2 separate regions of the Homo sapiens genome follow, and region 2 is linked to region 1. Evidence: promoter capture Hi-C in 16 types of primary human blood cells and fetal thymus (Javierre and others, 2016). All regions are on one chromosome and are shown on one strand. The core of a region is centred on a gene start or on the middle of the fragment in contact, and the rest is flanking DNA. Distances in the headings are between cores, read along the strand shown.

The links. The method cuts DNA at HindIII sites, captures the fragments that hold promoters and counts their contacts. A CHiCAGO score of 5 or more calls a contact.
Region 2: a contact is called between a fragment that was not itself captured here and the fragment with the promoter of NXPE1 in region 1, in 1 of 17 cell types (erythroblasts). The highest score is 5.0, in erythroblasts.

The regions. Positions count from the first base shown.
Region 1 is chr11:114,558,026-114,562,479 of GRCh38, reverse strand. NXPE1 (neurexophilin and PC-esterase domain family member 1) reads left to right here and starts at 2,599. Exons shown (of 9, transcript NM_001395504.1): 1 at 2,599-2,682. It also overlaps a transcript of NXPE2 not described here. The HindIII fragment of the contact is 13,193 bases long and covers 1-4,454 here.
Region 2 is chr11:114,335,496-114,339,300 of GRCh38, reverse strand. No RefSeq gene overlaps it. Among named protein-coding and RNA genes, the nearest start is that of NNMT, 41 kb to the right of the region's middle. The HindIII fragment of the contact is 1,332 bases long and covers 1,582-2,913 here.

The sequences.
Region 1 (4,454 bases), core at 1,350-3,849:
TATGATTCCTACTGAAATCAGTAAAGGTGGACACAGAGTTTAACAGAGACAGCCATGAGGTATGACCTCTCCACATATCATATGGAAGCACTGAGAATGTGTGCAAGGGCTGGGAAGACAGAGCAGTGCTGTGCATAATCCCCAAGAGGGAAGAAGAGAGCATGGACTCTCAGAAGACTGGATATTGGCACTCAGCACCAGGAAATATTTCTAACCACTCTCCCAGAAGAAAATGCAATAAATAAACCCAACATTTACAGGGAGGCTAGCAGAAAATTTCAAATGCAAAGATGAACACATAACCAAAAATTACCAATCATTTGAAAGAGACTAACACTTGAAAGAGAGGCATAAAGCACAATAATCAGAAGAAATTGACATGCCAAGAAAACAAAGTTAAAAGGACAGTTGATACAAGAATTTAGAATAAGTGTGTTTAATTACCAGACTGATGTGAGAGGATATTGCAGCCATACTTAGAGTTAACTAGATATTTGTTAAATTTAAAATATGATACGTGAAATAAAGAAAAACTTGAGGGACACACTAAAGTTCAAAATGAAAACAATAAACTGGAGAAATAAAATGTTAACTCAAGAATTCTTGCAGAATACAGAATAAAAGGAAAGTGTGATCAAAATTATGAAAGAAAAGTTAACAGATATTAGATCTCAGGTCTAATGGGCCATTAAAAGCGCCAAACATGATGAAGATAAAAAGATCTGCATAAAATTTCATAATACCAAGGATGAAGAGAAAAATGCTACAAAGATTCACAATTATACTAACTTTGACATCAGACATTTCATAAATGACATTGGATGCATGAAGAGAATGAAACAGTATCCTCAAGGCTAAGAAGAAAAATATTTTTCACCTAATTCTATAGCAAGTAAATTTATCATCTATTTAGGAAGAAAAAATATGTACTCAGTCTAATACTGGTCCCCTCTGAAAGAGCTACCAAAGACTTTACAAGATAAGAAACAAATTGAGTAGTGAGGAGTAGGTTTTAGAAACAATATTGGTTAAAGAAACCAAGGTAACAAACAATATTGCCTAATTGTGAGTGAGGCAATATGTTCATATGAACTGTTGACACATGCAATAACTTGGATGGACATCGTGGACGTTACGCTGAGTGGGAGAAAAAAGCCAATCTCAAAATTTACTCCCATGCATAAATAGTAGTAGTTGGGGTGGTGATAGTAGTAGTTGCTAATTATTTAGTGCTTAAACTAAGTGTCAGAAACTGTTTTTAAATGTTGTACATGTATTAATTCATTTAATCCTATGAGTACTTAGCACAGTACTAATAATACTTGTGATCTTCAAAACTAAATCTTACAAATTGGCACAGGGTCTGGGCATCCAGGCTTAGAAAGAGAGATGAAGTTAGATTTATGTTACAGAGCTGAAGTAACAGTCACATGACAAATATGAAGGTTCCAGAGGGAAGGGCATGAGGCATGAGAGAAAGGTCTCCAATATGTAGTCAGTAAAATATTATTCAGCACTAAAGAAATAAGCTATCAAGCCACAAAAAGACAGAGAAACTGAAATCCGTATCGCTAAGAGAAAAGCCAATCTGGGACAGCTACACACTGTATGATTGCAGCTATGTGACATTCTGTAAAAGTCAAAACCATGGAGACAGTAAGAAAACCAGTGGTGACCAGGGGTTAGAGGGGAAAGAAGGATTAATAGGCCTAATTATTCATATACACCCATATATTCCCTTTCATGTTACAGGCATTTGGCATAGCAGAAGTTACAGCAACATTTACTGTATTGGTGAATTAAATAATGTTTATGATAATGACGAGTTAATGAACCATATCCCCTTTCCCTAACTCAGAGCAAATAGTCCTTCCCCATTTATTAGATATCCTTTTCAAACCGATAAAAGATCCAGCTGGGAAAAGTGGCTCATGCCTGTAATCCCAGCACTTTGGGTGGCCGAGGAAGACAGACCACTTGAGCCCAGGAGTTCAAGACCAGCCTGGGCAACATGGTAAGACCCCATCTCTACAAAATACAAATTAAAAATATTAGCCAGGTGTGGCAGCATGCACCTGTAGCCCCTAGGCCCAAGGCAGAAGGATGGCTTGGGCCCAGGAGTTCGAGGTTGCAGTGAGCTATGATCACGCCACTGCACTCCAGCCTGGGCAACAGAGCAAAACCTTGTCCAAAAAAAAAAAAAAAAGAAAAAAAAAGAATTCTCAATCACCCACCAGTTCTCTGCATGGTGTCCACTGACAATTTGTTCTCTTGTTTGGAGTTGTCGTGAGACTTCAGATTTTCTGAGGAAAGCCTATCCATAGAGTCACTTGGGGTATTTTTACACTATGACTTCAAGGACCACAGCTGTTTCAGAACTAAGAGGTTTTCCATTCCCAAGGGTCACCAGTAACATGGAGAGAGAAGGAATCTCAAAGAATACCCGAGTAACACCCAGTTAACAGAGGCTGTGGAATTATCTAATTGTCAGTTAATTGTACTACTGTTTATTGCCTCTTCAAATCTCCACCCCAAGATAAGCCAATTTACGAGGAAAACAGACTGATGAAAATAAATGTGTTCACAGACAAGGAACAAAAACATTTTACACAGCCACAAGAGCCAGTTAAGAACTCACAGGTACTTTTCCAGCCACCCAGATAGGAGAGATCATTAAAACAGGTGAGTAAGCAAAACTATGGAGACTGCCTTTCTCTATTTCTAATCTTGCCAGTGGTCAGTGGAGGGCAGGGAAGAACAAAGCAAAAGAAATTAGAAAGACTGTGTCTGCTGAGGGGTTCTCTCAAGTCAGAGAAAGATAAGAAAAGGGAGAAAGCTCAGAAGAAAGTGTGGGAAACAAAAAAAAAAACTGATAGTGAGAGCCTCTCTTACTGACAAGGATAGGCTGGTTTTGACGGTGAGACAGCATCAAGATAAAATATTTCTCTAATAACCAACCAGCAAAAGTCCCCAGTGCTTTGTGGGAAGCAAGCATGGATACAGTCACTCAACCTAACATCTAGTTGGAGAGAGGAAGAAGGACATCAAAAATACCTGTTTACAACTGATATTTCTTTGCCTTGTTTTATGTATGACATTGTTTGGGTGGAAAATGTATGAATATGTCACAGGAATTCAAAATACGGGAGAGATCGTTGTGGTCTAGAGTTATGCTGGAAAGTTTCCTGTAGAGATTGCCCCTGAGCTGGGGATTCACTGACTATAGAGTCTAGATTGGTGCAGGGGCAGGCCACCCCAGGTGGGCAGTAGGATGAGTCATAAACAAAGCCAGAAAAGCAGGAAGGATTCTTTTTTAATTTTTGTCTTTGAGTATGTGTGTATCCATGTATTGTGCTTTGTATGTATATTTTTAATTTACATAAAAATGTGATAAAGATTTATGTTTATTTCTTTCTTCACTTAGAGCTGTTTTTAAGAGCTCTTCATATTACAGGTAAATCTAGTGAGTTGTATCTAACTGTTGGATAGTATCCCACAATACACATCCACTACATGTTTCTTAACCATTTCATAGTAATACATATTAAAGTCTATTTAATTCCCTACAATTACAGCTATACATATAATCAACTGAAAACAAACTTTGTATGTGATTCTTTATGGACCTGACTGAGAAGTCCTCTGTGATGTATCCAGAATGAATTGCTTGGACATAGGGCATAGATAAACACAAACTAACAGAAATATTGCCATTCTGCTTTCAAAACGATCATGTTAATTTGTACTCTTACATAGCACAGCAGAGTTATGTATAAAGATCCAATCTATATTGTGACCTAGTTCAGCTTAAGTCCATAACAGGAGGATTGTTTAGCTTTAGAAAATATACGAATGTAATACATCACATTTAAACATAAAAGTTTAAAAATTCATATAATTACCTCAATGAATCAGAAAAGGCCTTTGTCAATAACTCAACTTCCATTAGTAATAGAAACACTTCACAAACTTTCTTAAAAGAGAACTTCCTCAATCTAATAGAAGGCATTAAGAAAAGCAAATATCACAAATCCAACATCATATATTTAATTACACATAGTAAAATGTTGAAACTAACTATGAAAACAAGGCAAACGTACCCAATATGGCCACTTCTAATCATCTTTGTTCTCTATGTGTGCCTATATAAAAGCACTATTAAAATAAAGCACTTGCATTTCTACACATCAGCCACAGATATTTGTTTGGAAAATGAAATAAAAAGAAAAACATATAGAATGTGCATATATATGGATATATATATACACACACACATAAACACATATACATAGATGTGTGTATAGTTTATATTTATAATTATAAATAAAATTTATGTTTCCCAAAATAGTAGACTTGCTTATAGTCTCCTTTTGAGAGCAACTAGAAAAGCTAGAGGATGTTATATTTGATCTGTTAAGCGTCAGAGAGCAACTGGGGCAGTGAGGGGTTGAGAG
Region 2 (3,805 bases), core at 998-3,497, 220 kb after region 1:
GCCCATTTTTTAATTGGGTTCTCTGTCTTCTTATTGTTGAGTTTCAAGAGTTCTTTGCATATTTTGGGTACCAGTCCTTTGTCAGGTGTGTTTTTAACAAATATCTTCTCTCTCTCTCAGTCTGCAGCTTGTCTTTTCATTTTCTTGACAGTGTCTTTGGCAGAGCAGAAATCTTTAATTTTAAAGAAGTCCAGCATATCAGTTCTTTTTTTCATGTATTGTGGTTTCGGTATTATATCTAAAAAGTCATTGACAAACCCAAGGGCATCTAGATTTTCTCCTATGTTATCTTCTAGTTTTACAGTTTGATATTTTGGTCTGTGGGGTATTTTGAATTAATTTTTGTGATGGGTGGAAAGTCTGTGTCGAGATTCACTTCTCTGCATGTGAATGTTCAGTTGTTCCAGCACCACTTATTGTAAAGCCTATCTTGTCTCCATTGTATTGCCTTTGCCCCCTTTTCAAAGATTAGTTGATTGTGTTTATGTAGGTCTATTTCTGGGCTTTCTATTCTATCCTATTGATCCTCTGCCAGTTTTTTCACCAATACCACACCGTCTTTATCACTGTGGCTTTAGGGTAGTTATAGTAATATCATAAGTCTTGATGTCAGTCCTCCAATTTTGTTCTTTTCTTTCAATCTTGTGGTGGTTATTGACTGTCTTTTGACTCTTCATATAAACATTGGAATCAGATTATTGATAGCCACAAAATATCTTACTAGGATTTTGATTTTGATTGCATTGAATCTATAGATCAAGTTGTGAAGAACTAATATCTTGACTAATACTGAGTTTTTCTATCTATGAACATGGAATATTTCTCTATTTATTTAGTTTTTCATTGGTTTCTTTCATCAGTTTTATGGCCTTCCTTATATAGACCATGTACAGGTTTTGTTAGATTTATACCCAAGTATTTTATTTTGAGGCACTGTTAATATAAATGACAATTTCTTTTTAATATCAAATTCCACTTGTTCATTGTTGCTATGCAGAAAAATGATTGACTTTTGTATATTAACCTTGCATCCTGAAACCTTGTTATAATTGTTTATTAGTTCCAGGAGCTTTTTTTCTTGATTTTTCAGATTTTCTTTCTTTTTTTATTTTGAGATGGAGTCTCGCTCTGTCGTCCAGGCTGGAGTGCAGTGGTGTGATCTCGGCTCACTGCAACCTCCGCCTCCTGGGTTCAAGCAATTCTCCTGCCTCAGCCTCTTGAGTAGCTGGGATTACAGGCACACGCCACCACACCTGGCTAATTTTTGTATTTTTAGTAGAGATGGGGTTTCACCATGTTGGTAAGGCTGGCCTTGAACTCCTGACCTTGTGATCCACCCGCCTCGGCCTCCCAAAGTGCTGGGATTACAGGCGTGAGCTACCACACCTGGCCTGATTCTTTCAGATTTTCTTTTAGACAATCATGTCTTTTGTGAACAAGATAGTTTTATTTCTTCCTTCTCAGTCAGTATACATTTTCTTTACTTATCTCATTGCATTAGCTAGGATTTCTAGCATAATGTTGAAAAGCTGTGGTGAGAGAGTATGTGTTTGCCTTGTTCCTGATCTTAATGAGAAAGCTTCTAATTTCTCACCATTAAATATGACGTTATCTGTATATTTTTTGTAGATATTCTTTATCAAGTTGAGGAAGTTCCCCCTCTATTTCTCATTTACTGAGGAGTTTTTTTTTTCTTTTTCTTTTTCTTTTATCATGAGCAAGTGTTAGATTTTGTCAAAGGTTTTTTCTACATCTATTGATGTAATCATCTGTATTTTGTTCTTTAGCCTGTTGATATGATGGATAGCCTTAATTAGTTGTCAAATGTTGAAACAGCCTTTCATTCCTGGGATAAATCCCCCTTGGTGTGGCACACAATTCTTTTTATACTTTGATGGATTCAATTTGTTAACATTTTGTTGAGAATTTTTGCATCTATGTTCATGAGAGATACTGAACTGTGGATTTTTTTTTTTTTTTTTTGGAGACAGAGTCTCTCTGGAGTACAGTGACGTGATCTTGGCTCACTGCAATCTCTGCCTCCCAGGTTCAAGCGATTCTCCTGTCTCAGCCTCCTGAGTAGTAGCTGGGATCACAGGCATGCACCACCACACCCGGCTAATTTTTGTATTTTTAGTAGAGACAGGGTTTTGCCATATTGGCCAGGCTGGTCTCGAACTCCTGACCTCAGGTGATCCTCCCGCTTCGGCCTCCCAAAGTGCTGGGATTACAGGCGTGAGCCACTGCACCCAGCCAAGATATATTGAACTGCGGATTTATTTTCTTCCAATGTGTTTGCCTGGTTTTGGTATGAAGGTGATGTTGACTTCATAGAATGAGTTAGGAAGTATTCCTTGTGCTTCTATCTTTGAAAGAGGTTGTAGAAAATCGGTGTGCTTTTTTCCTTAAACGTTTGGTAGAATTCACCAGCGAACCCATTTTGACCTGATGCTTTCTGCTTTAGGAGGCTATTAATTATTGATTCATTTTCAGTTGAATAGATATACCCTTATTCAGTGTGTATTACTTCTTATGTGAGTTTTGGCAGATTGCGTCTTTCAAGAAATTGGTCTATTTTAGCTAGGTTATCAAATTTGTAAGCATAAAGTTGTTCACAGTATTCCTTTATTATCCTTTTAATGTACATGACTTTTGTAATGATGTCCCCTCTTTCATCTCTGATATTACTAATTTATGTTCTTCCTCTCTCTCTTTTTTCTAAGTTAGCCTGGCTATGGGCTTATTAATTTTATTGATCTTTTCAAAGAACCAGCTTTTGGTTTTATTGATTTTTCTCTGTTAATTTTCTGTTTCAATTTCATTGATTTCTGCTCTAATTTTTATTGTTTCTCTTCTTCTGTTCAGTATAGATTTAGTTCGCTCTTGTTTTTCCAGTTTCCGAAGATGAAAGCTTAGGTGATTTCTTTTAAATCTTTCCTATTTTCTAATATATGCACTCCATGCTATCAATTTCCCCCTTAGCACTACTTTTATTGCACTGCACAGTTTTTGATAACTTGTGTTATTTTCATTTAGTTCAAAGTACTTTTTAATTTCTCCTGAGATTTCTGCTTTGACCCTTGTATTATTTAGACACATGTTGTATTTGTATCTCCAAGTATTGGGGGATTTTTCAGCTATCCTTCTATTATAAATTTCTAGTTTAATTCCATTGTGGTCTGAGAGCAGACACTACGATTTCTACTTTTTTTTTACATTTGTTAAGGTATATGAAGTGGTCTAGAATGTGGTCTATCTTGATGAATATTCCATGTGAGCTTGAGAAGAATGTACAGTGAATTCTGCTATTGCTGGATGAACTAGTTTATAGCTGTCCATTATTTACAGTTTATAGATGATGTTTTTGAATTTGATTATGTTCTTAATGATTTTCTGCCTGCTGAATCTGTCCATTTCTGATAGAGGGATGTTGAACTCTCCCACTATACTAGTGGACTCATCTATTTCTCCTCACAGTTCTATCAGTTTTTGCTTCATGTATTTTGATGCTGTGTTATTAGGTGCACACACATTAAGGATTGCTATGTCTTCTTAGAGAACTGACCCCTTTATCATTCGGCAATGCTCCTCTTTATCCCTAATAACTTTACTTGCTGTGAAGTGTTCTGTGTCTGAAATTGTTCTAGTTTCTTCCACTTTCTTTTGATTAGTTTTAGCATAGTATACCTTTCTCCATCCATTTACTTTCAATTGATATGAGTCTTTATATTTAAAGGAGGTTTCTTATAGACAACCTGTAACTGAGTCTTGTTTCTTGATCCATTCTAACATTCTCTGTCTTTTA